7 separate regions of the Homo sapiens genome follow, and regions 2, 3, 4, 5, 6 and 7 are each linked to region 1. Evidence: promoter capture Hi-C in 16 types of primary human blood cells and fetal thymus (Javierre and others, 2016). All regions are on one chromosome and are shown on one strand. The core of a region is centred on a gene start or on the middle of the fragment in contact, and the rest is flanking DNA. Distances in the headings are between cores, read along the strand shown.

Region 1 (3,689 bases), core at 458-2,957:
ACAAATTAGCTTCAAGGATGGGGTCTCATTCAGGAAAGACAAACTTAGGTACCACAACTCTGCTCTGGTCACCAAGCACACCCTCACCAGCTCTCTGATTTCATAATGCTAGAAACTTAAAACCAGGATGTCGAGGAAGGAAATAAAATCATAAAATCACTTCTGTGAGAATCCTTTCGTGGTAATGCGTTTCACCCACACACTGGGGAGCCACTAATTGCAGCACAAGGGGAACAAGATATTGGGCAAAAGAATAAATTTCACTTTCTAGCATATCACAGTTAACTACCTCGTGCTTGTTTTGCTGTGACTGTGCCAGAATGCACCAGTCCTGGAAAAGATGAACTTGGCTCCTTAACCGTACCCATACTCAACACCGACCAAAGGATGCCCGAAATTGTCTTGATTGGAAATCATCTCAACCATCATCTTAGACTAGAAACAAGTAGATGCTGGCCTCTAGGTCAGGACCCCTAGAACAGTGCATTATTTTTTTTTCCCAAACAACCATTCTGAGGTTTTTACAAAAATAACCGACTCACAAACAGAAACGCTTCCTGATCTATAAGCCACTTTGAAAACAAATCATTATGTCGTTGAATATTTCATGACGGTCCAAAGCACTGAAGAAGGCGAACTGAGCGTTCACCAATCCTCCCCATGTCTATTTTGGGACTTCCAAAGCAAACTGCAAATGCCTCCTTTATTTTCTAAACGTTCATTTGCAAGTGCTAGATGGATTCTTGGTGAAATATTGCCTCCACCCAAACTGACTAAATGCAGAGATCCGGAGGTTCCGCTTCTCCAGAGTTTACAGCTGAAAGAGACAGCGAACAACTAGTGAACACGACTTCCACCCTATTTTATAGGTGGCAAAAGCAGGGGGCACTTGCCCAAGGTCACACAGACAGTGGGTGTATGGCAGAGGAGCCACCAGAAGCCAGAGTCCTGACTCCTAACCCTAGGGGCATCCCCTGCTTCCCGAGGCTGACTCAACGCCCCCACTAAAGCTCAGTCAAAGCTGCTGCAAGTTAGCGACGCGACCCTGGAGACTGACTTCTGTGGCTCATTCCTCTCCACACGCAATGAGTTCTGGAGCTGAGACACTCAGGGATGCCCCTCTACTCAAAAAATGACAACACAGGCATTGGCACTGCAGCTGATCGTCCCTGGCGAACCCCTTCTGGTTCAGGTGTGGCCATCGAGGACGGACAGAGAGGGTTGGTCTGAGGTCACTCAGAAAGTTGGCGCTGGCCGCGGCCGCACCTGAACCCAGGTCTCTCCCCCTCCCGCGTTGCCGCTGTTTCCACTCACTACACCATGCAGATCTCGGAAACTTAAGCACACATCGCTACTGTGCAAACAGTTCACGATGGCAGGTCCTGAGCTAGCCCACGGACGCGCCCCCGAGCCGGGCTTGGGGACACGAGGACCGGAGGCGGGCGCGGGTCACCCGGGACTGGTGGTGCAGGCGGAGGGCGGCGCGGAGGAAGCCGAGGCGCAGGCCCGGGGTGTGGGGACAGGCCGTCTCCCCAAAACTTTGCGGTGCCAGGACCCCTCCCTTACCTGCAGAGGAGGTGCCGCCCGCGCGGACAAGGACCTAGCGGGCTGACGCTCTCGGAGAAGGGCGGCCCCGCCCAGCGGCGGGCACGGTCGCGGCCAAGGCTCGGGAAGCAGCGCTGCTCGGGCTCGGCTCGGGCTCCGCCTCCCGCGCCGAGGCTGCAGCCGGAGGGGTTGGCCGGGCCGGGCCGCGCCCGCGCCGTCTGGCGGCGGCAGGTGCTGAGGCTGCAGCTGCGCGGCCGCCAGCTGCCGGCGCCGCGACCCCCGCCCCGGGGGAGGAGCCCCGCGCGCCGCCTCCGCTGGCTCCGAGGTCCCGGCCCGCCGCAGTGGGCGGTCCCGCTCCCACCCGGGCCCTGCCTCCGCCGCCTGCCTCAGCTCACCGCCGGGGCACGCAGCGTCCGCTGAGTACCCAGGGGGGAGACTGAGGCTGGGAGAGGAAAGGGACTCCCCAAGGTCACCCGGACCAGCGGTGGTTGGGCCAGAACTGGAACCCAGAAGAGTTCCCAAAACGACCCCCTTCTCACGCCTCCTTTTCCCCAGGAAGAGCCCCAGCTACGGGGAGCCCTGGGGGACTCGCCCCCTGACCCCCACGCCCCGCAGGTGTTCGGCTGAAGGGAGAGGGAGAGCGTGGGCCCACGGTAGGCACTGTGGACCACCTCCCCTGTCTCTGTAAACTCCTTCCGCGCTGGGAAACTGTGTTCTCCTAGCTTTCCTCGGCCCTCTCCAGCCACTCCCTCGGTCTCCTTGAGGGTTCCTCAAACCAGAAGCTCTAAAATGCCGGAGCGCCCTGGGACTCTGCACTCAGCCCTTTTCTGACCCCCTGAGCCGTCTCACCCACTCCCCTGGTTCTGGTCCTACCGCCTCTCTGAGCATGATACCCAAATGCATGTGTCTGTGCACTATTTTCCGTGCTGAACTCTACTGAACACCTACGAGGTCCATATCCTGCATTAGACACTGGAGATACAATACACCTTTAATAAAGCAGTCCCTGTCCTCATGGAATGTACAGTCTAGGACTATTAAAATACAGTCCAGTTCCTGTAACAATAACCCAATCCCACGGGGCCAAGGGCACCACTCAGGCCTGCACTGACTGAGTGAAGGCCTCCTGGAGAGGGCATGCTCTAAATGGAAACCTGAAAGGCCAGTGGAATTGGCCAGTGAAAGGGAGGAGTGTGGAGAGAGCCTTTCAGGTTGAGACCACAGGAACAAAGACCCCAAGATGAGAGAGATCCCACAGAGGGAGTGGCAGGAGTTGAGACATAAAGCAGGGGAGTCAGCAGGGGCCAATTCCTGGTCAAGGAGTTTGCACCGTGTTCCCAGTGCACTGGCAGGTTCATGGGAGGAGTTCTGAGTAGGGTTGAGGCACCATCAGACTGGGATGTTAGATCATTCTGGGGATGGTGCACAGGCAGATGTTAACAAGTGCATCCTTCATCCAAGGGCGGTGGGGGAAGACTAGCAGCACTTTGGAGCCAACATCGTCTGGATGAAGGCAGGTGCTCCTCCTTTGTGACCTTCATTTCCAAATCCAGGAGTCCATCCAGAAACTCCTGAGTGGCTCCATCGCTGAAAGACCTCCTACGTAATTGCACCCAAAGCTCCCTTTTCTGTCAGTGCCCCAGCCCTCTGCCACCCAGATCCACGGGCTGAGTGAGCCTTTTGCTTTCCTCACCCGTCTTTGTAGTATACAAAGTTCTGCCCCAGGAGACAGAAGCACCATAAGGGTGGAAGATTCTGAAGCCATAGTGGAAATAATGAAAGCTTTTTAAAAATCAAGTATTCTGGCTCTCTGAATTATTTCTTAACAATTGCATGTGAATCTACAATTTTCTCAAAATAAAGTTTAATTTTAAAAATTATTTTGTAGATAAAGATTAATCATCAAATTACTCTCTCCAAGGCAGTTAAACACCAAAAAGCATAGCACTTGTCAGAAAGTAAGATAAGAACTATTCTCTTGTCCGGTGAGTACAAATGTTCCCCATGGAATTTTGCCCTGTCCCCCTCCATTTCCTAGCTACCTGCGTCAGTGTCAGCCTCTCTAGGTGCCGGACCCAGCCCCTAACCCCGCTCTCCTCAGATTCTCATTCTGGTCCCTCTTGCCCCTCAGCCTCCTTTACCAT
Region 2 (3,689 bases), core at 663-3,162, 800 kb before region 1:
AATCTCCAGCCCCGACCTTGTCCATAAGCTCCAAAACTATTTAGCCAACTACACAGTTGATATTTCTTTTTAATGTATTGAAAGCTTCTCAAAGCTTGTATCAAAAGCTTCAGTATGCATCTTTTTATTTGAGACAGCGTCTCACTTTGTCACCCACGCTGGAGTGCAGTAGCACAACCACGGCTGACTGCAGACTCAAATTCCCAGGCTCAGCTGATCCTCCCACCTCAGCCTCCTGGGTAGCTGGGACCACAGGCACATGCCACCACCCCCAGCTAATTTTTGTAGAGATGAGGTTTTGCCATGTTGCCCATCCTGTTCTCAAACTCCTAGACTCAAGTGATCTACCTGCCTCGGCCTCCCAAAGTGCTGGGATTACAGGCAGGAGCCACTTTGCCTGGCCAAGTATGTCTTATATCTGCCCCAAACCTGGATCTCTTCTAATGTTCCTTAATGAGTAAATGACAGCTACCATCATCCTTTCATTGTGCAAGTTAGAAACCTAAGTCATCCTCAACCTGCCCCTCTCCCTAACCTTCCTATCCAGCCCATTACAAGTCCTATTGTTTTCACCTCCTGAACTTCTGGAGTTGACATCATCATCTAGGATGTGATAAAATCACGTCTCACCTGGATCCCTGCAAGTCTCCCAGTTGGTCTTCCTGCCTCATCTCTTGCCCACCTCCAACTCGATCTCCGCATTGCAACCAGAGAGATCATTTAAAAACATAAATCTGATCACACCATCTTCATGCTGGAAACACTTCCATTATTTCCTACTGTACTTAGAATGAAGGCAAAACTAAACACAGAGCCCCAAAGGGCTCTGCCTGGCCTGCCCCGCCCACCTCCCCAGACCTCTCTGCCTCAATTCCTCACTCCAGCCATGGCTGAACTTCTCAGCTCTTCCCACTCTGCCTTCTCCCTCCCTCCCCAGAGCCTCTGCATGTGCTCTCCCCTTCTGTCTGCAATATCCTTAACTACATCTTCCAACTGACCTCAGAGCCATCATTACTTCATTGGAAAAGCCTGTTTCACTCTCCTAAAAGTCCATATGCCTGATTCTCGGGCCCACAAAGCCTTCTTCTGCCATATTTTTGGTATATAATGTAAGACATTTTAGAAGGAAACTCAGCTGATCTCTTTCCTCTGATCTACTCAGGTCTCTTTGGGAATCTGTGTTTGGCAGCAGCCCAGCTGCCCTTTCCTGCCCTCCTCACCCTTCCCCTGCCTTTACTTACTGATGGGATGAGGGAATAATGAAGGAAGAGCTCCATGTCCACCGAGCTGGTACAAGTGCCATTTAACTGCCTGGTCCTGCAAAATGGCCAAAAACATCACATTCATATCATCAGTCATTGCTGTTGTCATTCACACTTTAGTCTTGAACATCACTGTCAAGAAGTTTGGCCTAAGACCATCCGCTAAGACCATCTGATCTTTTTAAATTTCACTTTCTGAGAGCCAAGGCTGCTCACCTGTAGTGTGTCTTCCCTAAGTGGAATAATCTTTCATACTTTTTTCTTCAGCTTGATTATTTATCCAACTTCTCTGCTAACTGAAACTAAGTCCTTCATTTAGGGGCAGAATCCAGTTCTGTGGGGCTAAAAGCTTATATAATTTGGGCATGTTTTTAAAGCAATACTACAAAATGTCTTACTTTTTCATATTTTAAGGGAGACATATGACCATGTAAACACCTAATCAGGGTTCTTCCCACTCTCCCAGAGCCTTGGAAGGGTCCTGTGTGAGTGAGGGGCCCTGAGACTAAAGCATCCTTCACAAGAAATTAGCACTGGTCAAGGTCAAGAAACATCAGCTCACACCTGAGCCACTGCTGGGCTGTTGGGGCAGGAGAGAGATTACTGGACTACAGGCTGCAGACTCTGTTCTCTCCAGCCCCCACTATCTGTGGAACAGGACTGTCATTGTCTCATGTCTAAAACACATGGCAGTAGTGTTACGGCTTCTCTTCAAAGAGATGCCTCCTTTCTGGGACTCCCACCACACTTTGTTCTTTCTGCTCTGATCCCCACAAGGCCACCACAACACACTCTATCATATATGTCCACATTTTTGTTCATGCTTTTCCCAACTCCTACACCATCCACCAGCCAGCCGGCCATCTGCTGACCTTTTTTCCCTAGACAGCACCTACTGTTCCCTCAGACGTCTCAGAGAAGAGGACTCCTCTGGGGATTCCATAAGCTTGGCATATTCCCCAGTAAGTCTTTAAAATGCCAGTGCTCCACAGTTATGTCTAACCATGGATCTGAAATATCTGATAAGTGGTGGGGAGGGGGTGGATGAGACCCAAACTGTCAGATATGTGATAGAACTGTAAAAGTCAGACTTCTGCTTTTAGGGAGGTAAACAGAGTATATATACCAGTCTCCTCATCCCATACAAAACCCTCAAAATGATAAGAAAGAAAGAAGGAAGGAAGGAAAGAAAGAAAGAAAGAAAGAGAGAGAGAAAGAAAGAGAAGGAAGGAAGGAAAGAAAGAAAGAGAAAGAAAAAAGAAAGAAAGAAAGAAAGGAAGAAAGGAAGGAAGGAAGAAAAAAAGGAAGGAAGAAAGGGAAGGAAGGGAGGAGAAAGAAAGAGAAAGAGAGAGAGAGAGAATGCATAACCATACTAGAAAGCAAGAAGGGGCTCTATCAGGGACATGGAAATTACCAGAAGACCCTGAAAGATAGAGAGCAACTGGGACTAGATCAGAGTAAAGGCATCAGCCATCATGGCCCCAGACTGTAAGAGCACTCAGGATGTGCTCAATACCCATAGTACAAGAAGTGGAAGCAGAATGGGGCTGGCAACAGACCACAGGAGAAGGAGGAAGAGGAGGAAAAGGAGGATAAGAGGAAGGAGGAAAAAGAATTCTGAAACTTTAAGACAGGTCTTTTGAAATAACCTAGTCAGAAAAGAAAATGAGAATAAAAAATAAAAGAAAATGAGAATAAAAAAGAATGAGAGCAGCCAAACGGGAAGGCTCAAGATGGTGTGCCTGTTGGAGACCCCAATCTGCATGAGCTTCCTCTCAGACCATGAATGAAAGTTACTGGAATTCTCCAGTCCTGTCACTCCAAAGGAGCTACTGTTTACAGATGCCACAGTGACACCGCACCTCATGGCACTGCTTAGCAGGTTCCACTATATCCAGGAGTACATCGGTCGGATCGTCTCACACTGCTGTAAAGGGGCCAGATCATCAAACAATTTTATTTAGCCGTGGTGCAGTTAAGAATATTGCTCACCTACTAACCTCATTTTCTACAAAGTTCAAATGCAAGCACTGAAATGTTTCTCAGTTTTACCCTGGTAAATGTTTTAGTTGATGGAGAATTGTTATCACAGATTTTTGTGACGATGTTACAGAGGGATAAGCATATTGAGATGCAGCTTACATCAGCAAAATGTTTAACTTACATGTATACAGCTGGAGCAATTCAGACAGATAACAACTGTATTAAAGACATTGCCTTATTTGGTTCAAACATGCAGTAAGAAGAGATTACTAGAGGAGAGAGTTAAAGGAGCTGAGACACTTGCCTATCTGATTGAACCAGATATTGAGCTACAGAGAATCGCTAGTGTAACTGATCACCTCATCGCCATGTTTGCTGACTATTTCAAGTATCCCAACTCATTGAGTGCCATCACTGATAGTAAAAGGCTTGATCATGATTTAA
Region 3 (3,689 bases), core at 398-2,897, 750 kb after region 1:
CACCCTGAGATCATCTATAAATGTTTAGTAAGGTTGTTTCTGGCATGAATGCTTAGGGGCACCTGCTGCCTGTCTGGATGAACCCATCCAGAGAAGTGTTTGCCTTTTCAGACCCATTAGTTCCTTTCGTATGCCTCTGTGAACCCAGGTTCAAGATGGGGTCACATGCCCATGTTAAGGATAGTGTGGCCCAGCAGCCTATTTAGGGGGCTGGTGTGTAGGATAGGGGACTAGGGAGCTCTTCCCCCAGAGTTGGTTTCAATCCTGAACAGCTAGAGAGGCAGGCCCAAGCTAGGGTCCCATGAGCCAAGAGTCACCAGCAGGAGTGATAGCTGATGCTCCCATCCACTCCCTCTGCACCATGCATTGTTCTAAGCCCTTGACTTATTAATAGCTTGTCTAATCTGCATAACAACCCTTTGTGGGAGTCACTCTTCTCATCCTCATTTCACTGGTGCAGTAACTGAGGCACAGAGAAGCATAGAAACTTGCTCAAGGTCACACAGCTTGTAAGTGGTGTAGCCAGGTTTTAAATGCCGGCAGTCAGACTCCACAGACCACACACTTGACCTCTAAGCCACACTATTCTCATAAAGCCTGGTGAGTCATGGCAGCCTGGAAGTGTGCCAGAGGAAGTCTGAGTTGGACAGACCCCTATCTGAAGAACAGAGCTGATAGGTGGATTTCAGGCCACGTGTAGGGGCCGGGACTGATGGGGCTTCTTGGGTGATATCTGATTGAAGGGTAGTGGGTTGACTCACCCCTGAAAAGCTGGCATCCCCTTAGGTCAGCCTCCTGCTCAGACAGACCTCATGCAGCCTGACCAGGCCTTAGCAGGTCCTGGGTGAAGGTTTGGTGAGTGGATGGGCAGACACAGCAGGTATGATTGCTCCTTCTTTCTTGGGAAACATGCTGTGTATTCTTTCATGTTCCTGCCTGGGCCAGGCCACCTGGACATGCCCCAGCAGCCTCAGGGCTCTCAGCCCCTGCTGTGCAGCCTCCCAGCCCTCAGGCTGTGTGTTGTCCATTGTGGGGAGCCCTGTGCTTCAAGAAACTCCCCACCTAGACCAAAGCTTTCTTCTGTTCTTTTGCTTTCAAGCAAAAAATAAAAGCATAAGAAAGATAATTGTCATTACTTAAAAACAAATATTTTAGAGATGGGGTCTCACTCTGTTGCCCAGGTTGGTCTCAAATTCCTGGGCTCAAGTGATGCTCCCACCTCAGCCTCCTGAGTAGCCGGGACCACATATGTGAGCCACCCTTCCCAGCCAACTGCTTTTCTTAAACAGACTTTCTTCCTCCTTCCTTGGTCTGGGAGAGAGAAGGCCAAGTGCCAGGGTAAGGATCATGCCACTTAGGTCTGGTTCTCTTCAGGAACAAGTCGTGAAGTCCCCAGTTCTTCACACCTGCACCCCATGGAGTTCCTGCTTTCTTATCCTCCATTGCCCGGCCTGCCTGAGAGGAGGAAGGATGCCAAGTGCTGGTGGTGAGGGGTGGGGAACCTCGGCCCAGGTCCCGGGGCAGGCCAGCAGGTGTGATCCAGGTGACTGGATTTGGGGGAAGGGGAGGGGTGAAGCCAGAGGCTGCACTTAGGGCTCTGGGCAGCTACTCTTTTCTAGCTGGATTGGCAGCCTTATGGGGTCTTTCACAACCACTAATATCAGCCCCGAATGTTATAGTTGCTCAAAAGGTGTTGCCCAAAAGAAAACCATGGTTGGCACAAATAGCCGTCTGTGCCAGTGTGGGTGGGGGTAGATTTCAAACAGATACCTGTGGCTTCATTATTTTAAAATCCGTCTTGTGCTAATGAGGCTGATGGAATAAAAGGCCCTGGTGAAACCCAGCCTAAGGCCATGGAGCCAGGGTGTGGCTTCCCATGCCCCCAACACTCCCCACTCGGATCCTGCAGCCTATTTTGGCCCCTCTCCACCTGGGCTTCAGGGCCTCTCTAAGGGCTGGGCCCATCAGTGGCCTAGTTTCTCTGTGGCCTGAGCACACTTCCAGCAGGGACAGGCTCTGCCCACGGCACCCTCCCGGATGAATCCCTTCTTTGACCTTTGTAATTATTCCTGTTCAATCTTCCTTCGTGTTTTCTTCCTCCTCCCTTTTTGAGGTGCTCAACTCCTGCACTCTCTCCAGTGTATTAAGGATGTGAGTGAAATTGATGACTGGGATGTCTCAGGTCTTTATGATGATGAATGACTTTCACTGCCAAAGCTTTTATTGTCTGTGATTTGGGAAGAAGGGGGAACTGATATATCAAGGCTGCCTGTCAGACCATTTAATACAGTTATAAATCCTGACGTCACTAACTGGTGGTCAGGAGCTGGAGAATTCCACCGCCACCGCTTTGCCGAGCCTTTATGGATTTTCTTCTTTCTCTCACCTTTCTTTGCTTGACTATCACAATTGTGTTTTGGGAGGGGGGATAGGGACAGCTAGATAGTGAATTTAAAAATCACAGGGACACCCTGGTCTAGGGAGGGGATGGGAGCCCTCCCTCACCCTTACTCTAAAAGAAGCAGCAGATAGAAGGCCTTTCATTCTAATGTGAGCAAGGAAATTGTTTGGTGAGACAAGCCCTGAAAGTATGCTAATGCCTTCTTTGCATGTGCACCACTCTCTACAGTTTACTAAGTGATTTTACATCTGTTATTTTTCAGATCCTCCTACCATCTTGGGAGGGCAGCAGGGAAAGACTTGACCCTCGTTTTACAGAAGAGGAAGCTGAGGCTCAGCAAGGCGATGTTCCTTGGCCAGGGTTATGCCACCTGGGCTGGTGACAGGAGCTCCCTGGGGTGAAGCAACAGAGCATCACCATTAGGTGTTTAGGGCGTGGGGTCGGACAGCGCTGGGCTCCAATCCCAGACCCCCCTACCTTTTAGCGGCTGACCCTGGGAAGGACACTTACATTTTCTGATACGCCATTTCCTCACCTGGAAGTGAGGCTAACACTCTCCTCATTGGGTTGTTCTGAGGGTTGTTCTAGGGTTAAATGAAATCATGCACGTGGGTTTCTAAGCTAGGCTCTTGGCTCATCAAAAGTGCTCAGTAAATGTTTTTAAAAGGTGAAATGATAAGGAGAGGCATGTGACAGATGTCACAGGTGCACAACGGGGGCCACTTCCCGAGGCTGGGTGGGAGGGCTTCCTGAGGGAGGTGACACTTGAGCACACGGAAATGAGCAGGAATTAACCAGGCTGGGGAAACAGGTGAGGGAAGAGCATTCCAGGCAGAAGGAACAGCATGATAAAGGATGAGTGAAGAAAGCAGCTGGAGATGAGGGAGGGCCCAGGTCCCTGAGGCTGCCAAAGACCTGGGGGCAGACCTTGCAGGTGCTGGGAGCCCTGAGGAGAGTCGACTCTCCAGGGGAATCTCTGTGGGGTCTTGACAGAGGGTGGAGGTAAGGAGGATGAGACTCGCAGGAAGACCTGACCTGACCCAGGTGGCTGTAAAAGCCCAGGAGAGAACGGATGAGGACCTGAACCCAGGCTGTGGAAAGGGGGATGGAGGAAACATTTTGAGGGGTGGAACTGGCAATAGTCACTTGTGAGGAACAGGTGGGCGGCCATCAACGATGCTCCCCTGGTTGGAGTCTGGGGGACCCGGGAGATAATGGAGCCAGTGGCTGAGATGAAGACCATGGAAGAGGAGCTGGTTTGAATATTTAACTTTGGGGTACCCCAGGG
Region 4 (3,689 bases), core at 533-3,032, 720 kb before region 1:
GTGGACCCCTCCTTTGTCTCTTTCCCATCTCTTCTTTGCTGTATGCTAAGGTTAAGCTGGACCAGAACAATCCAGAGACCAATGAGGATGTGAATGGCCAGCCAGAGAGCTGATACCTGTTAAGGCTTTGTCACCCTGTGGCCTCAGCCGTGTTGCTTCTCCTCTCTTGGTGTCAGCTGTTTATTTGCAAAGCCGGGGCTGGACTCGATGAACAGCGCTCAGTCAAAGGCCTTTTGTAGTTGAAATATTCCAGAGGATGCTGTCACTTGGAAATACATTCTCTCAGGTGAGTGAGTAATAAATGCAACTTAAGAGGCAGACAAAATATATTCCAGCAACAAGCCCAAGGGGGTGGGTAAGGAAAAGGTCTCTGAGGGTGAAAAGGATAAGGACTTCTGGGCTGGGAAACCTCCAAGTTCCCATCTCTTTGTGAGAGTCTGTGAGTCTGTTACATTTCAAGTCAGCTTCAGAAAGCACTTTCTAACTAGCAAAATGGTCCCATGATGGAAGGCACCACTTGGGGAGAGAATGAGCCCCCTGTCACCAGCATGTGCAAACAGAAGCCAGATAAACCATTGGCAAGGACACTGTAGGATGGAGGTTGTAAACGGAAATGTGTTCAAAGGCCAGGAATATATTTTGAGAGAGAGAGAAGAGAGGCCACATTCACATAACTTTGATTACTGTATATTGTTAAAATTGTTCTATTTTATTACTAGCTATTGTTGTTAATCTTTTACTGTGCCTAATTTATAAATTAAACTTTATTTTAGGTATTTACATATAGGGAAAACCATAAGCTATGTTGAGTTCGGTACTATTGAGGTTTCAGGCATCCACTAGGGGTCTTGGAATGTATTAACACTTTCATCCTACCTGTTCCTAAATCGGGATTATTTTGTAATCTGATGATTACATGTTTATAGTAATTAGCATGTAATTTTATAGTAAATAACGTGTTTATAGTAATTCTCAGATCATTGGCTCTGACAGGCAAATTTCTTTTTAAAGCTTGATGTTAAATATATTTTAAAGCTATCATAATTTATCGAATTTTTTTGAAAAAGAACAATGGGGAGGATAAGGGGGACTACTATAGATATAAACAACAGAATATTATTCAGCCTTTAAAAAGAGGGCACTCCTGCCGTTTGTGACAGCACGTGTGGACCTGGGGCACATTATGCTAAGTGAAATAAGTCAGGGAGATGATTCTTATTTGTGAATGTAAAGAGCAGCCCATTGCGTGTTTAATATACAAGCCCACTTCATCTGCTTTGGTGGATTCTGCATCACTGAGCCATAAGTATGTTAGTGGTTGGATGTCAAGAGCAGACGATGTTGATGACAACTGGGCAGGTAGCATCTCCAATGTGGAATGCTGAACAAAGGGATGATTCACATCCCAGGTGGGACAGAGCAGGACAGTACAAGATTTCATCACGCAGTTTAAAACTTATGAATTGTTTATTTTTGGAATTTTCTATTTAATACTTTCATACTATGGTTGACTGCAGGGTAACTGAAACTGTAAAAAGTGAAAACGTGGATAAGGGGGCACTGTTGTACCAAAGTTGCTTTATCCATCTAGCCATCACACAGAAAGACAGATCAATACTGCATGATCTCACTCATATGTGGAATCTTAAAAAGGTGAACTCACAGAAACAGAAACTAGAAGGGTGGTTATACCAGCGGTGAGGGGTAGGGGAAATGGGGCAATGTTGGCCGAAAGGTACAAACTTGCAGATGAAAAAGTTCTGGAGACCTAATGTACAGCATGGCTATTATTAACTATACAGTGAATAATATAGGAATGATTCCTTTGTTCAGCATTCCACACTGTAGATGCTATCTGTCCACAAGTCATTGACATCATCTGCAACTATAGTTAATAACTATAACTATATAGTCAACAACTATAGTTCATAATCACTAATAACTACTAATTAATAACTAACTATACAGTTAATAAAATTAGCCATGCCTGGCTAATTTTCATCCTTGTTACTGTACAGAATCCTTAGTGTGACTATACCACAATTAATTCATCCACTCCTGTTGCTGGCCATTTAGGATGTTTCCAGTTTCAGTCTGTTACAAATCATGCTGCCATAAACATTTTTGAACGTCTTTTGATGGCTGTGTGTACGCATTTCTGTTGGGTGCATACCTAGGAGTGGAATTGCTGGGTCACCAGGCACGCATGTGTTCTGCTTATAGTAGAAAATGTCAATCAGCTTTTCAAAGGGGATGTATCCATTTATACCCTGATATCTGTGGATGAGTTGGATGCTCCAAATTTCCCTGTATTTAAATATTAACCACAAATTTTTAAACACCCTTTGCAGGCCAAATAAAATACAGATTTTATCTGTAGCTGCCTGTTTTCAATCTCTCGAGTGGAGAGAATTCAAATGGCAGAGCAGCTGAGAATTAGACAAGAGCGTTTCCAGCATCTCTTTTTGCTGGAGAGCTCAAAATTGGCTCCAGCAAATGGTTCAAGTCTTTTTGATTCCTCCACTCCCACCCAATACTCGCCCCCAAAGCTTGTAAAACAGGCTTCCCCCTCCCTACTTACCTCCCTAGACCGCCGTGAAGATTTACTAATAAATGTCTGCACATCAGCCAGTGAAGAGAAGCAGGGCTGTAAGTAGACAATAATCAGGATACTAATCAGCATCACATCCAAGGGCGTGACTCCATTAAGCCAGCCCTTGCCCCACCACTGACCCCCCTCCATTCAGCTGCTCACGCCACTATTCTGTAAGCAATTTTCAGGCATCTGCTCTGGGCTGGGCCCTCAGTTATAGGCTGGAGACCCAAAGGAGGGCCTGGAAGAGTTCCTGGACTCACCCTCCATGGTACGAAGGAGGAAACTGAGACCCAGGAACAGAAAGGAATCTGCCCAGGTCACAGCACCCTTCAGGCATAGCTAGAGGCTGAAGCCCCTAACTCTAGCTCAGGCTTCTTTCTGTACCTGTGAGGTCCCAGACATTCTCAAAAGGACCCCCCTTTTCCCCTGGCACTGCCTCCCTGCCACTCCCTGTGCCCCCCACTGCCTCTAGTCCCCACCAGTTCCTCCCTTTGCAGCTGCCTTGATGAGAAAGGGATTCTCCCATCCCCTCCCAATTTCCCAGTCCTTTTCTTTCTCCTCAAATCTGTCAGGCTGGCAACCCTATCTGGGTCTCACCGTGCCCACCCTGCCTCTCTGTTTCTGCACTGAGGTCCTCCTGGGTGGAGACTCTTCTGAGGTTCTGGTGTCAGACAGAGCTGGAACTGAATCCTGACCCTGCCTCTCTAACTAGATGTATAACCTTGGGCATGCCAAGGTTAACTTAACCTCTCTGTGCCTCAGTTCTTATATCTGTGAAATGGGGATATCAACAGTACTTATCTCCTAAGGTAGGTATGAAGAATAAATAACATAAAGTGTTTGGAAACCATTAACCTCAAGGCCAGACAGGAGTTTTGAGACGCAGAGTGATGAAGGCACCAGTCTGTGGTCACATAGCATGTCTGTGGAAGAGGCAGGAACTGATCCAGGTCTCCTGGGTCCCAGGTCTAGGCTCCACGCACCACCTTTGAGGGATTTCTGCTGGGCTGCGCAGACCAGTTGGATAGAAGTTTTAAGTCAGGCAGTAATGAGACTAAGCACCAAGAAAGAAGCCCATTTCCAGCCCTGACAA
Region 5 (3,689 bases), core at 633-3,132, 700 kb before region 1:
AATGATTTCTTTGAAGTTACTAAACATGAACAGATTTGTACTTTGCTCTACTTGTTTGAGTGAATGTTTTTATTTAGGCCTTTATTTTTAAGGCCACTTTCTTCCATTTAAGGGGGCCAATGGCTTCCATCATGGAAGTAGCACTTTCTCCCCATAAGAAATGAAAATCCTGCAGGCCCTGGGTGGATGACTGGGTCTCTTTGTGGGGTGGTTTGAGCAAGGGAGCAGCAGGATAATGTCCGTGGGGCCAAGGCTGACCCCAGCCTCACTTTTGTCAATATATTCCCCCTGGTGTCCTCAATCCTGGCTCTCTGACGACTGGAGTCAATATCTACTTTAATGTGTTTTGGTCTCATTAACATGGACTGGATTAACCAGCCCGCATGGGCTTTTCAATTAGGAAGATAAATTTCTGACAGTGTTTACAAAGGGATTAGATACCTGCTTAGCATGTGACAGGCCTTGCCTTCTCTTCCTCCCTCCTTCTCCCCCTCCCTCCCTCCATCTCTTCCTCTCTTTTCTCCTTTGCTCTCTCCCTCATTCCCTCCCTCCCTCCCCTTCCTTCTTCCTCTCCCTCTTTCTTCCCTGTGTTCCATGAATGAATGGGCTTACTCTGTTTCCCTTTTAGGGATTGCTATGGTTTGGATCTGTGTCCCCACCAAATCTCATGTTGAATTTTCATACCTAATGTTGGAGGTGAGCCTGGTGGGAGGTGATTGGGTCATTAAGTTGGATTTTTTGTGATGGCTTTTCTGTCCTTCAGTCCCAAAGGTCATCTCAGAGCAGCAGCAGCAGCAGCAGCAGCAGCAGCAGCAGCAGCAGCAGCAGACAAGCTTTGAGGGGCCCAAAAAGCAGGCCTAGCACCGTCCCCTTGGTGCTGTTCTCGCGATAGTGAGTGAGTTCTCCTGAGATATCTGTTCATTTAAAAGCGTGTGGCACCTCTACCCTGTCTCTTGCTGGCTTCTCCTCCCACTGTGTGACGTGCCTGCTCCCCCTGTGCCTTCTGCCATGATTGTAAGTTTCCTGAGGCCTTCCCTGAAGCTGAGCAGATGCCAGCATCCTGCATCCTGTAAAGCCTGAAGAACTGTGAGCCAATGAAACCTCTTTTCTTTATAAAATACCCTGTCTCATGTATTTCTTTATAGCAATGCAAGAATGGCCTAATACAGGGATATTTGGCTAGATGGGCTGGTATGAGTAGACATGTGATTAATATCATTTAACCATCCTAGGTGACATCATTCCAGCTGCCCAGCTCTACTCCAGCCTTTGCTTGCACACCTCCAGCCCCTGAAAGCTCACTACCTCAGGGGCCAGCCCATGTCACTGACCACAAGAAGGCTCTTCCCTGAGCTGAGCTGCCACCTGCCCCCCAAAAGAGTTCCATCTCATGTGCTAGGCCTGCTTTCTGGGACCTCTCAAAGCTTGTCTGCTGCTGCTGCTGCTGCTCTGAGATGACCTTTGGGACTGAGAGACAGAGATCTCATGCCTCCCGGGGGTCTCCCTCTGTGCTGGACAGCGCACCCCTCTCAATGTCTCATCCTTTGCAAGGAGGCACCATTTGCGTCATACAGTCACATGTGTATAGTTTCCATCATGCTATAAATAGCCTTTTGTGCTCCTTTTTTAAATTAAAAATACATTGTAAACATTGTTCCACATGCTATGCCTAATCCTCAAAACACAACTACCCTTTTAAGCACTTCAGGGTATTCTGTGTGGAACCTCATGGATGGCTTCCCCATCTTCCACTGACGCATGCATACCTCGCTTTTCAAATGTTTTCACGGCATCTTTGTTGATTTGGCGTTTTCCTCCTGTTGAATAATCTCCTCAGGAGAAATTCACATTAGTGAGATGCCTGGATCATTTATCTTGATTTGACTTTTGGTACATATTATTAGATCGCCTTGCAAAATGTCTGCTACAGGATAAGTTTTACCTCCCCAGCGGAGTGTATCACTTCAGCTAGAAACTCATTTTAATATACATATTTTTTTATTTTGTGGGAATAAAGCCATCTCGAGGTTGTTTTAATTTGATATCTTGCACCGAGGATTAAAGAAAAGTAAAGCAAAAGAGGGGGGAAAGACATTTTTCTTTGTGTTGGATTGTTATTTGTCTTTCTCCGGTGTGAATTGTCTGTTTGAACCCTTTGCTCATTTACATATTGGGGTATTGATGTTTTGCTTACAAATTCCAGTGAGCTCTTGAATTAAACCTTAGTCTGTCCTTAGACTAAGGTTTCTCCCTAGAACTTTCACTTTTATTTTAATCATGTTGCTCTTCCTGTTTTCTGCCTGGGGGAGCCCACCATTTAGGACTAGAAGACAAGCTTGGGCACTGACTGCCCAGCTCCTACAACTGGCACCACCGAGGTCCCAAAGAAGAATATTAATAAAAGCACTGTACTGGATGCTCTGGGTATATCTCTTCTACTCCTCAAAGTAACCCTGACAGGACATTGTGCCTATGTTACAGATGTGGAAACAGGCTCAGAGGGGTGGCGCGTGTGCTGCAGGTCTCACAGCAGGCACACCAGAGGTGGTGCAGGTAAGCATTGTCTCTGGGTTTGTTATCCTTTTCCACAATACCAGCAGCCTGCGGAGGAGTAAGAAAACATCTGCTGCCAACATCTCCAGGTTTGTGACTTCAAACTCCCCTGGCAGAGGAGGGAACTACCATATTTGGGGACAATTTACATCAAATTACCATGCACCAGCCAACAGCTGCCGCCTGGAGCGGGAGGCTGGCTGCACAGAGCCATCACATTTATACACATGATAATGAAAACCCGCACGCGGGCCTCCACGTTCTCCCATAAATATGGTCATTATGATCTTGTTGGCATTGCTTGTTGAATTCCATCTTGCAAATTGTTTCCTGGTTGCCTAGGGGAGCTGACTTGGGCTCTTCTCAGTCTCCTTTCCTCTAGACATGACAGTGTTTGGGGTTTGCCCACTGTCCTCAGACCATCCTCTGGCACAATTCTCAGGACAGCCTCCACCCCATGCTATGAGCAGTCAGCAAGTTCCCACTGTGTGCACCATGCGTGGGACTGATTGCAGAGAGCCGCAGAGCTGAGAGGGCTCTCAGGGCAGCTGACAGGCCCACTCCTGCATTTTACAGACTGACAGGATACAGGACAGGAGTGGGGTCAAAGTCCAAGATTAAAAAGGACCCTTTGCATACCCTCCCTGTGCTGAACCCTGGAAGGGTAGCACACAAACCTCCCCAGGGCACCCAGGGCTTAGGCAGGCCATGGCTCAAAGTCCGCACTGTAAATAATAGAAATCTTTCTCAGCTAGCTGGAGGACAGGGAGTGGCAGTGAGGAGATTTGTTACAAGGAATCTCATGAAATCCAGGGGCTAAATTGGGCCACATCTCCAGAAGGACTAGAAACAGGAAGTGGAAAGCCAATAGGAAAGCAAGGCACCCTCTTCAGCTCTTGTCTGCTTCCCTCTGCAGAGGGACTCCGATCTCCTGTCTTTGAATGAACATCCCCTGTTCCTCCCTGTACGTGGTAGAACATGGACACCCCAAGTGTCATGTTTCTATGTGACAAGTCCAGCCATCCACAGGGTGGCTGTCTCCGGCGTCCCAATTCTAAATTACCAAAGAACTGAAGAATGGGCTCTAACGGGCTCATCTTGGGTCAGGTGCTTACTTCTGGTGCCATCACCTGTAG
Region 6 (3,689 bases), core at 808-3,307, 660 kb before region 1:
CGTGACAGTGCCTTGTTGGCCAAATTTCTGGGTCTTTTCTGTTTTTCCCCATTGTATTTGTCAGGGTTCCCCAGAGAAACAGAAACAAGGAGAAATATCTAATCTATATCTATCATCTATCGATCTATCGATCTATCTATCATCTATCTATCTATCTATCTATCTATCTATCTATCTATCTAATCTATCATATATCTATCTAATGAGAGAGAGAGAGAAAGACAGACTGAGTTATTGTGAGAAATTTTCTCATGGAATTATGGAGACTAGCAGGTCTAAAATCTGCAAAGCCAATGTCCTGTCCTATTTTGAAGGCCCTTAGGCAGGAGACTTTTCTCTTACTTGGATCAGCCTTTGTTTCAGGCCTTTGATTCTAGCCTTCAACTGATGGGATGAAGTCCAGCCCATTATGGAGGACAATCTGCTTTACTCATTTTACTAAGTTAAATGTTCATCTCATCCAAACCCCACCCCTGACCTTACAGAAACACCCAGAATAATGTAGAACCAACTATCTGGCCCAGCCAAGCTGACACATACAATTAACCATCACGTGAAGGTTGAAATGAAAGTTGAAAACCCTCAGGACTTAAGTAAGCAGGAGTGTGTCTATGAGATGCATATTTAAAACACAAAGAACAGGTACACAAAGGTGATAGGTGTGGTTTGGACATTTTAAAAAATTCAAATATTTCTAAATGACATTTCCAGTTTTAAATGGCAATTGATAGTACCCTCCTCCACCCCAACTACAAATTTTCACTAATGGAACCATGAAGCCACAGCATTGCTTGCAGGCATACAGATGACTCAGGTGGACAGAAAACTTTCTGCTTAAATCTGAGAGGACACTCCACTAATGATAAGACAGGTGAAGAAGATTGAAATACCTTCTGGTGTTCACCTCCTGAAACACAGAATTACTTAAAGCAGATAGGAGGCTCCTGCATACCTCCTCCACCATCTGACCCTGGACAAACCTAGAGTCAAGATCAGTGAGGGCACCTTCAGTGTCCACCTTCAGCCCCTAAATACCATCTTCCTACTTAATCCCTGCCCAGGATCTCAAGGAAAATAGCTGTATAAATCTCAGGGGAGTTTAAAACAACAATAACAGGCCATTCGCACCTGCCAGATTGCGGGGAAAGCCTGGCAACACTAAACACTGGGAAGGAGATGACTGGGAGGCAGGTTCACTAACAATTAGCCCCAAGGGAGGCCTCCCACTGCATGGAGGGCAGCAGAGACCATCACTGCACCAACCACCAGGAACAGGAGTCCAAGCACTCCTCCCACTGCATCTTGGACTGCAGTGTTACCAACACCCGAGTCCGGTGAAACAGAACACACTCACGTGCAACAAGTTTATTACTTACAGGTAGGCAGCAAGGGACAAGAGAAACCTAGGATTCATTGTAAGCTGGTACCCCAAGGCTCAAGATAACTGCATGGGGTAGATAGGGTCTTGCCTGCACGTTTCCCACTTTGCATAAAACCTGAGAGACCCCGAAAGGCAGCCCACTCTGGGTTATAGACCTCAGGGGCAACAGGACTCACTGGGCAAAGCTTTGATGGACATCCTGCTTCCAGGGGAGAGAGGAACAGAGCCCGGACTGTCCCAGGCAGTTCCTCCCTAACTCAAGATATTACATTCCCTAGGAGGGATAGGAACAAGGCCCAGGCTGCTCCTGGCCTCCTCTCTATCTCAGGATATTGCATTCCCAGCACATTCTACAGTTATGCTTGAGAATTACAAGCAAAAAGAGGAAGGAATTGCGTTGGTCCAAGGCGACCCAGAGAACTGTCCTGCAATGACCTCACTTTAACTTTCACACCTCAAAGGATCATGGTAAATTTTGCATCATCTTCCATGACTTCTCAACCATATTCGACACCACTAAACATTCCCTTTTCTAAAGACTTTCTTCCCTTGACCTCCAGGAAGACATGCTCTCCAGTAGCTCCCCACCTTGCTGGATGTCACTTCTCAGTCTTTTCTGGCCCCTCCTCTGTCCTCCACGTGTTACTACAGACATATGTCATTTCATTATGCTTCACTTTATTGCACTTCACAAATATTGCTTTTTAAAAAAAAACAAACTGAAGGTTTGTGGCAACCCTGTGTCTAGCGAGTCTATTGGCACTATTTTTCAAGCAACATGTGCTCACTTTGTGTCTCCATGGTACATGATGGCATTTCTAGCAAAATTTCAAATATTTTCATTATTAATATATCTGTAATTGTGATCTGTGATTAGTGATTTTTGATGTTTTTATTGTAATTGTTTTGGGACACCACAAACTGCACCTATATAAGATGGCAAACTTAATTGATGAATTTTGTGTGTTGACTGTGTGTGACTGTTTTGACTGCTCCACTCACCCTCTCTCTCTCCCTCTCTTCAGGCCTCCCTATTCCCTGAGACACAACCATATTGAAGTTAGGTCAATTAATAACCCTATAATGACCTCTAAATGTTCAAGTGAAAGGAAGAATTGAATGAACATCTCTCTTTTGAAATCAAAAGCTAGCAATGATCAAGCTTAGTGAGGAAGGCATGTCGAAAGCTGACATCAGTCAAAAGCTAGAGCTCTTGTGCCAACAGCCAGGTTGTGAATGCAAAGGAAAAGTTCTTGAAGGGAAATGAGAAGTGCTACTCCAGTGAACACATGAATAATAAGGAGTAAAAGAGCCTTATTGCTGATAAGGAGAACACTTGAGTGGTCTGGATAGAAGATCAAACCAGCCACAAGATTTCCTTAAGCCAAAGCCTAACCCAGGACAAGGCCTTAACTCTCTTCAACTCTGTGAAGGCTGAGAAAGGGGAGAAAATTACAGAAGAAAAATTGTAAGCTAGCAGAAGTTGGCACATAAAGTTGAGTGAAAGAAGTGATCTCCATAACATAAAAATGCAAGTTGAAACAGCAGGTGCTGACATGGAAGCTGCAGAGAGTTATCCAGAAGGTCTAACTAAGATCATTGATGAAGGTGGCAATGCTATACAACAGATTTTCAGTGCAGATGAAACAGCCTTATACTGGAAGAAGATCCCATCTAACACTTTCATAGCCACAGAGGAGAAGTCAATGCCTGGCTTCAAAGCTTCAGAGGACAAGCTGACTCTTTCATTAGAGGCTAATACAGCTGGTTACTTTAAGTTGAAGCCACTGCTCATTTGCCATTCTGAAAATCCTAGGGCCCTTGAGAATCATGCTGAATCTATTCTGTCTGTGCTCTTTAGATGGAAGAACAAGGCCTAGATAACAACATATCTGTTTACAGCATGGTTTACTATTTTAAGTTCACAGTTGAGACCTACTCCTCAAGAAAAGATTCCTTTCAAAATATTACTGCTCCTTGACTCTGCACCTGGTCACCCAAGAGCTCTGATGGAGATATACAAGAAAATGAATGTTGTTTTCATGCCTAACCCAACATCCATTCTGCAGCTCATGGATCAAGGAGTAATTTTGAATTTCAATTCTTGTTATTTAAGAAATATCTTTCACAAGGCTATAGATGCCATAGATAGTGATTCTTCTGATGGATCTGGGCAAAGTGAATTGAAACCTTCTGAAAAGGATTCATCATCTAGATGCCAGTAAGAACACGCATGGGCCAGGCGCGGTGGCTCACGCCTGTAATCCCAACACTTTGGGAGGCCGAGGCAGGTGGATCATGAGGTCAG
Region 7 (3,689 bases), core at 551-3,050, 630 kb before region 1:
CAACCGGGGAGCCGTGCTGAAGGGGGAAGGGCAGTGCGAGTCCCTTTGTCATTAGGCAGCCAGCGCTGGAGGGATCACTCCAGCTTAAATTAAGGATTTAATGAGATGAGGCCAAATTAGATGCAATTAAAAAGACACTTTAGAGCTGGCAGACGACCAAGAGAGGCAGTAATGACTTTTGTAGAAGGGAATCCCACAGGCTGGGGGTGCGGGGCTGGGGAGGGCTTGGTTTTCTACTCCTGGAAACATCCAGGGCTGGGGGATGGGAGGATAAAATAGACTCCCTCATTGTCAAGGCTGATGCCCATGGAGGCATGCACAGCCCTCCGATGTCTGCCCAGGCTTTCCATTTCCAAACTGGGATGTTTGGAGCCCCCAGGGATCCAAAGAAGGCCTTTAGTAACTTCACCAAGCATTGCCTAAATAGATATTCTTTATTTTAAATCTTGAAACAAAAATGCTGTGCAGGCTCCCAAATGCTAGTCCAGGGGGCCCCTGCCAACCTGCGCACTCGTGCTGATGTGCTGATGCAATTCTGCGTGGATCTCAAGACAGAGCTTCTCCGGCCCTGCCTGGGGCCTCCATGTGGATTCTGAGTGGACGCGCCATTGCCTGGGAAGGAGGCTTACGCTGCTTCCCTTGGGTAATTCAGGCCTGGACATGAACTTGCACATCACACTGTCCATGTGAGCCCACTGCAAGGTGACTTGCATGCTGCACTCACTTAACTTTCCAGCACAGCTAGAGACCTGCTCGACACCACAGAAGGGCTGGGCCAAAACCAAGGACTGGGGGCAATGCCCTAAGTCTTGATGTTATCATACTGGAAGAACCCTTCAGTGCTTACTGTAAGTGCTAGGCTCCACTAGTCTGACTTTTGTTCACTTAAATGGACTCCGTTTAGCAATGTAAGGTCACACTGTTACCCTGTTTACAATACTAGATAATGCATTTAGGATAAAATTGAATCCTGAAGCTTAGACTTAACAGGCAAAACAGAACAAATTTGACTGTTCAGAAAGTTTCAGTGAAGAGCTGTCAGACACAGGCACTGAGGCATGAGATTTCCTCAAATGACAACCCTAAACATCCTTCCAGCTACATTTGAAAAGTATTTTTTCTGCCAAACAATGAACATTTAAAGTAAGAAACCTACTCATCATCTCCCTCCCAATGTAATACTCACCATTTAAAAAATAAGAGCAAGACTTAGGTATTGTTAATAATTCAACCTTGAAACAAAATAATTGCCTATTGTTCCTCTTGAAGTTTCTGGATCCATTTAATTGGTGAATATTCTGAGATAGTAAGGTAAAGTGCTTTGAAAATATGTTACCATTTGCCACTACTTTTCAGGGTGGATCAGGATTTTAATAATGTAGAAAAACCAAATCAAAATACTGAAATAAATTGGATATTGATGCTGACACTGAATTGCAACTATTATTTATAATGTCCAACTTCAAATTATTTGGGTTATTGAAATAGTCTCATTATTCTCATTGGTTGACTTTATAATCAGTAGTGCTTATAAATTTGAACTGAAACATAAATTTATAATAATGTCACTCTTGTCAGTTTTATGTAATGGATTTCTACCTATAAATGTGTTTGAATATTACTTATGAAATGATTGGAAACTGCTGACCTAGTCCAACCCAGTCATGGTACAATCGGGAAACAGACCCCAGAGAGGGATGGGGTCTTTTTCAAGGCCACAGAGAGAGTCAGCGGCAGGATTGGACTTAGAGGCTGGATCCCTGACCTCCAGGCCAGGGCTTGGAACAAAATGGGCTGTAAAAAGGCCTTTGGGACTCTGCCCCAACACTGGCACCTGCCTCTGCCTTGCGCAGCCCTCTTCTGTTTCAGTGGGACCCTTGTGCTCTCCCTCCCTCTCCCATCCCTCTCTCTCCACACAGTGACCAAGTTCTTTCCTTCAAAATCCCCGGGCAGATCAGAACGCCAGTCTGAACCCCTTCTCCCTGGAGCCACCAAGTCACAAGGAAGAGCCTGATGCCCCCCTGTTGGGGGAAGGGATGTCTGAGCCAGAGGTGCCAGCCCCCAGCCCCACTTCTGCTCTGTGTGGTAAGTGCTTGAGCACACAGTGGTGTGACACCACACCACGTGCCTGGCTATACTGACTGTGGACTAGGGAGATTGTGAGAATTTAGGGAATCCATCCATGTAAGGCATAGAGAAAGTCGTCAATGGCTGTTAGCCATTATGATCTGTTTTATAATAAAGGATTGATGTAAGCCATCATTTTTTAAAAGCATTTGGCTGCTAAGGAAGTAGAGCAAAAAAATGGCTTAGAAGATAAATGTAGGGCACTTACAGTTCTTTCTCTGCTCTGCCTTCAGCCTTATCCACCCTCCTTCCTATGCCTCATGTGCCAGTGCAGTGGTCTTCTCACTGCCCCTCAGAGTGTGTACCACTTTCTCAGGCCCCCATGCCTTTGCTCAAGCTGCTCCTTCTGCCTGGAAGACCTCTGCTCTCCTCCTGAGGCCTCTGTGTTACGCCCCCTCTTCCCAGAAGCCGTGGCAGGATCCCTCAGTAGCGGCAACTCCAGAATTTCCACAGGAGGGCTTAAGGTCAGTGCCATATTGAAAAGAGCAGGAAGCTTGGTCCTGGGAGACTTGTCTGGAAGCTGTGTTTGCACAACTCACTCACTGGGTTTGCTTAGATTGTGCGTTTATTTGGGGTGGCTTCGTGGGGCTGATGGAGATCACAGGGAACTCAGGCACCTCGCCGCCGCGTTAGAATGAAGCTCTGCTCCTTCTGTATGCACTCGGCGCGTGGCTTGCGCTGTTCTTGTGGCAGAGCTGGTGTTTGGTCCCTAGTGCTTCCTTGCCTGCCCTCTGCCCTCTGCTCAGCCTCTGCCCCCACCAGCCACAAGGCAAGACTAGTTCATAAGCCCCCTCAGAACAGTCACCAGCACCCAGATCCTCTGAACTCATGCCGCCAACTCCCCAGCTCATTTCACAGGAGGGAAAACTGAGACCAACTAACATTAAGGCCCGTGCTTCAGCTACAAAATAGGTGCTTGCAAACACCTTATGTTTGGAGCCAGGAGAAGGGATGTGCCATGGGATCAGAAGTCAATAACAGTTGGATTAATAAATCAAGCAGTAGATAGTGAAATAAAACAAAGTCCAGAACCTATTGAACTAATCAATAACACCTGATTGCCTGCTACAAGCTGAAAATACCAGCCACTGATTACCAAACCCTCAAGCCACTAGACAATTATCATTGTATGCAGTGGCTTTCAAACTCTACCATGTATCCGGCACCTGGGGGCTACAGAATACCCAGAGTGCTGGGCTCCACCACCAGAGTTTCTGATCAGCACATCTGGAGAGGGGCTCAAGAATTTGCATTTCTAACAAGTTCCCAGGTGCTCGTGATACTGCTGGCCCCAGGGAACAGACTCTGAGAACCACTGATCCAATGTTTTATCTTCTCCAACCCCGAAGACTACTGGGTGGCCCAGGTGGCTGCTACAGTGGGACTTGGGATTTCACCTGTAAACCAGAAGTGTAATGATCTCCCCCCAGCCTCACATCCCCAGTGCCGATGGTCCCCACTTAAAACAGGTCGAGCCAGCCTTCCTTTCACTCCAGATCCTGGCCCTTACTGCATGATATTGAAATGGACCATTTAGCATCTTTCTCCCCCTAGTTTCTCCC

Evidence for each region. The method cuts DNA at HindIII sites, captures the fragments that hold promoters and counts their contacts. A CHiCAGO score of 5 or more calls a contact.
Region 2: a fragment that was not itself captured here is called in contact with the fragment with the promoter of FRMPD1 in region 1 in 1 of 17 cell types (endothelial precursors); the score reaches 6.2 in endothelial precursors.
Region 3: a fragment that was not itself captured here is called in contact with the fragment with the promoter of FRMPD1 in region 1 in 1 of 17 cell types (naive B cells); the score reaches 5.1 in naive B cells.
Region 4: a fragment that was not itself captured here is called in contact with the fragment with the promoter of FRMPD1 in region 1 in 2 of 17 cell types (endothelial precursors and M2 macrophages); the score reaches 7.6 in endothelial precursors.
Region 5: a contact is called between a fragment that was not itself captured here and the fragment with the promoter of FRMPD1 in region 1, in 3 of 17 cell types (endothelial precursors, erythroblasts and M2 macrophages). The highest score is 5.9, in endothelial precursors.
Region 6: a fragment that was not itself captured here is called in contact with the fragment with the promoter of FRMPD1 in region 1 in 1 of 17 cell types (endothelial precursors); the score reaches 5.7 in endothelial precursors.
Region 7: a contact is called between a fragment that was not itself captured here and the fragment with the promoter of FRMPD1 in region 1, in 1 of 17 cell types (M0 macrophages). The highest score is 5.2, in M0 macrophages.

Annotation. Positions count from the first base shown.
Region 1 is chr9:37,648,972-37,652,660 of GRCh38, reverse strand. It overlaps FRMPD1 (FERM and PDZ domain containing 1), which reads right to left and starts at 1,707. Exons shown (of 16, transcript NM_014907.3): 1 at 1,567-1,707. RefSeq lists a silencer at 1,566-1,835. The HindIII fragment of the contact is 4,272 bases long and covers 1-3,329 here.
Region 2 is chr9:38,453,746-38,457,434 of GRCh38, reverse strand. It overlaps LOC105376041 (a long non-coding RNA gene), which reads right to left. Exons shown (of 8, transcript XR_007061487.1): 5 at 1,242-1,317. It also overlaps the pseudogene ARMC8P1. Among named protein-coding and RNA genes, the nearest start is that of IGFBPL1, 31 kb to the right of the region's middle. The HindIII fragment of the contact is 597 bases long and covers 1,614-2,210 here.
Region 3 is chr9:36,900,829-36,904,517 of GRCh38, reverse strand. All of the region lies in intron 7 of PAX5 (paired box 5), which reads left to right. Among named protein-coding and RNA genes, the nearest start is that of MIR4476, 9.1 kb to the right of the region's middle. RefSeq lists an enhancer at 3,434-3,689. The HindIII fragment of the contact is 1,144 bases long and covers 1,076-2,219 here.
Region 4 is chr9:38,371,870-38,375,558 of GRCh38, reverse strand. It overlaps LOC107987065 (a long non-coding RNA gene), which reads right to left. Exons shown (of 3, transcript XR_001746670.2): 2 at 2,582-2,647. LOC105376040 (a long non-coding RNA gene) reads left to right here. Exons shown (of 4, transcript XR_929605.1): 2 at 51-286. Among named protein-coding and RNA genes, the nearest start is that of ALDH1B1, 19 kb to the left of the region's middle. The HindIII fragment of the contact is 1,538 bases long and covers 1,014-2,551 here.
Region 5 is chr9:38,352,007-38,355,695 of GRCh38, reverse strand. The region is part of intron 1 of LOC107987065 (a long non-coding RNA gene); the gene reads right to left. LOC105376040 (a long non-coding RNA gene) reads left to right here. Exons shown (of 4, transcript XR_929605.1): 4 at 764-803. Among named protein-coding and RNA genes, the nearest start is that of ALDH1B1, 39 kb to the left of the region's middle. The HindIII fragment of the contact is 911 bases long and covers 1,427-2,337 here.
Region 6 is chr9:38,304,790-38,308,478 of GRCh38, reverse strand. No RefSeq gene overlaps it. Among named protein-coding and RNA genes, the nearest start is that of ALDH1B1, 86 kb to the left of the region's middle. The HindIII fragment of the contact is 977 bases long and covers 1,569-2,545 here.
Region 7 is chr9:38,281,209-38,284,897 of GRCh38, reverse strand. No RefSeq gene overlaps it. Among named protein-coding and RNA genes, the nearest start is that of ALDH1B1, 110 kb to the left of the region's middle. The HindIII fragment of the contact is 1,644 bases long and covers 979-2,622 here.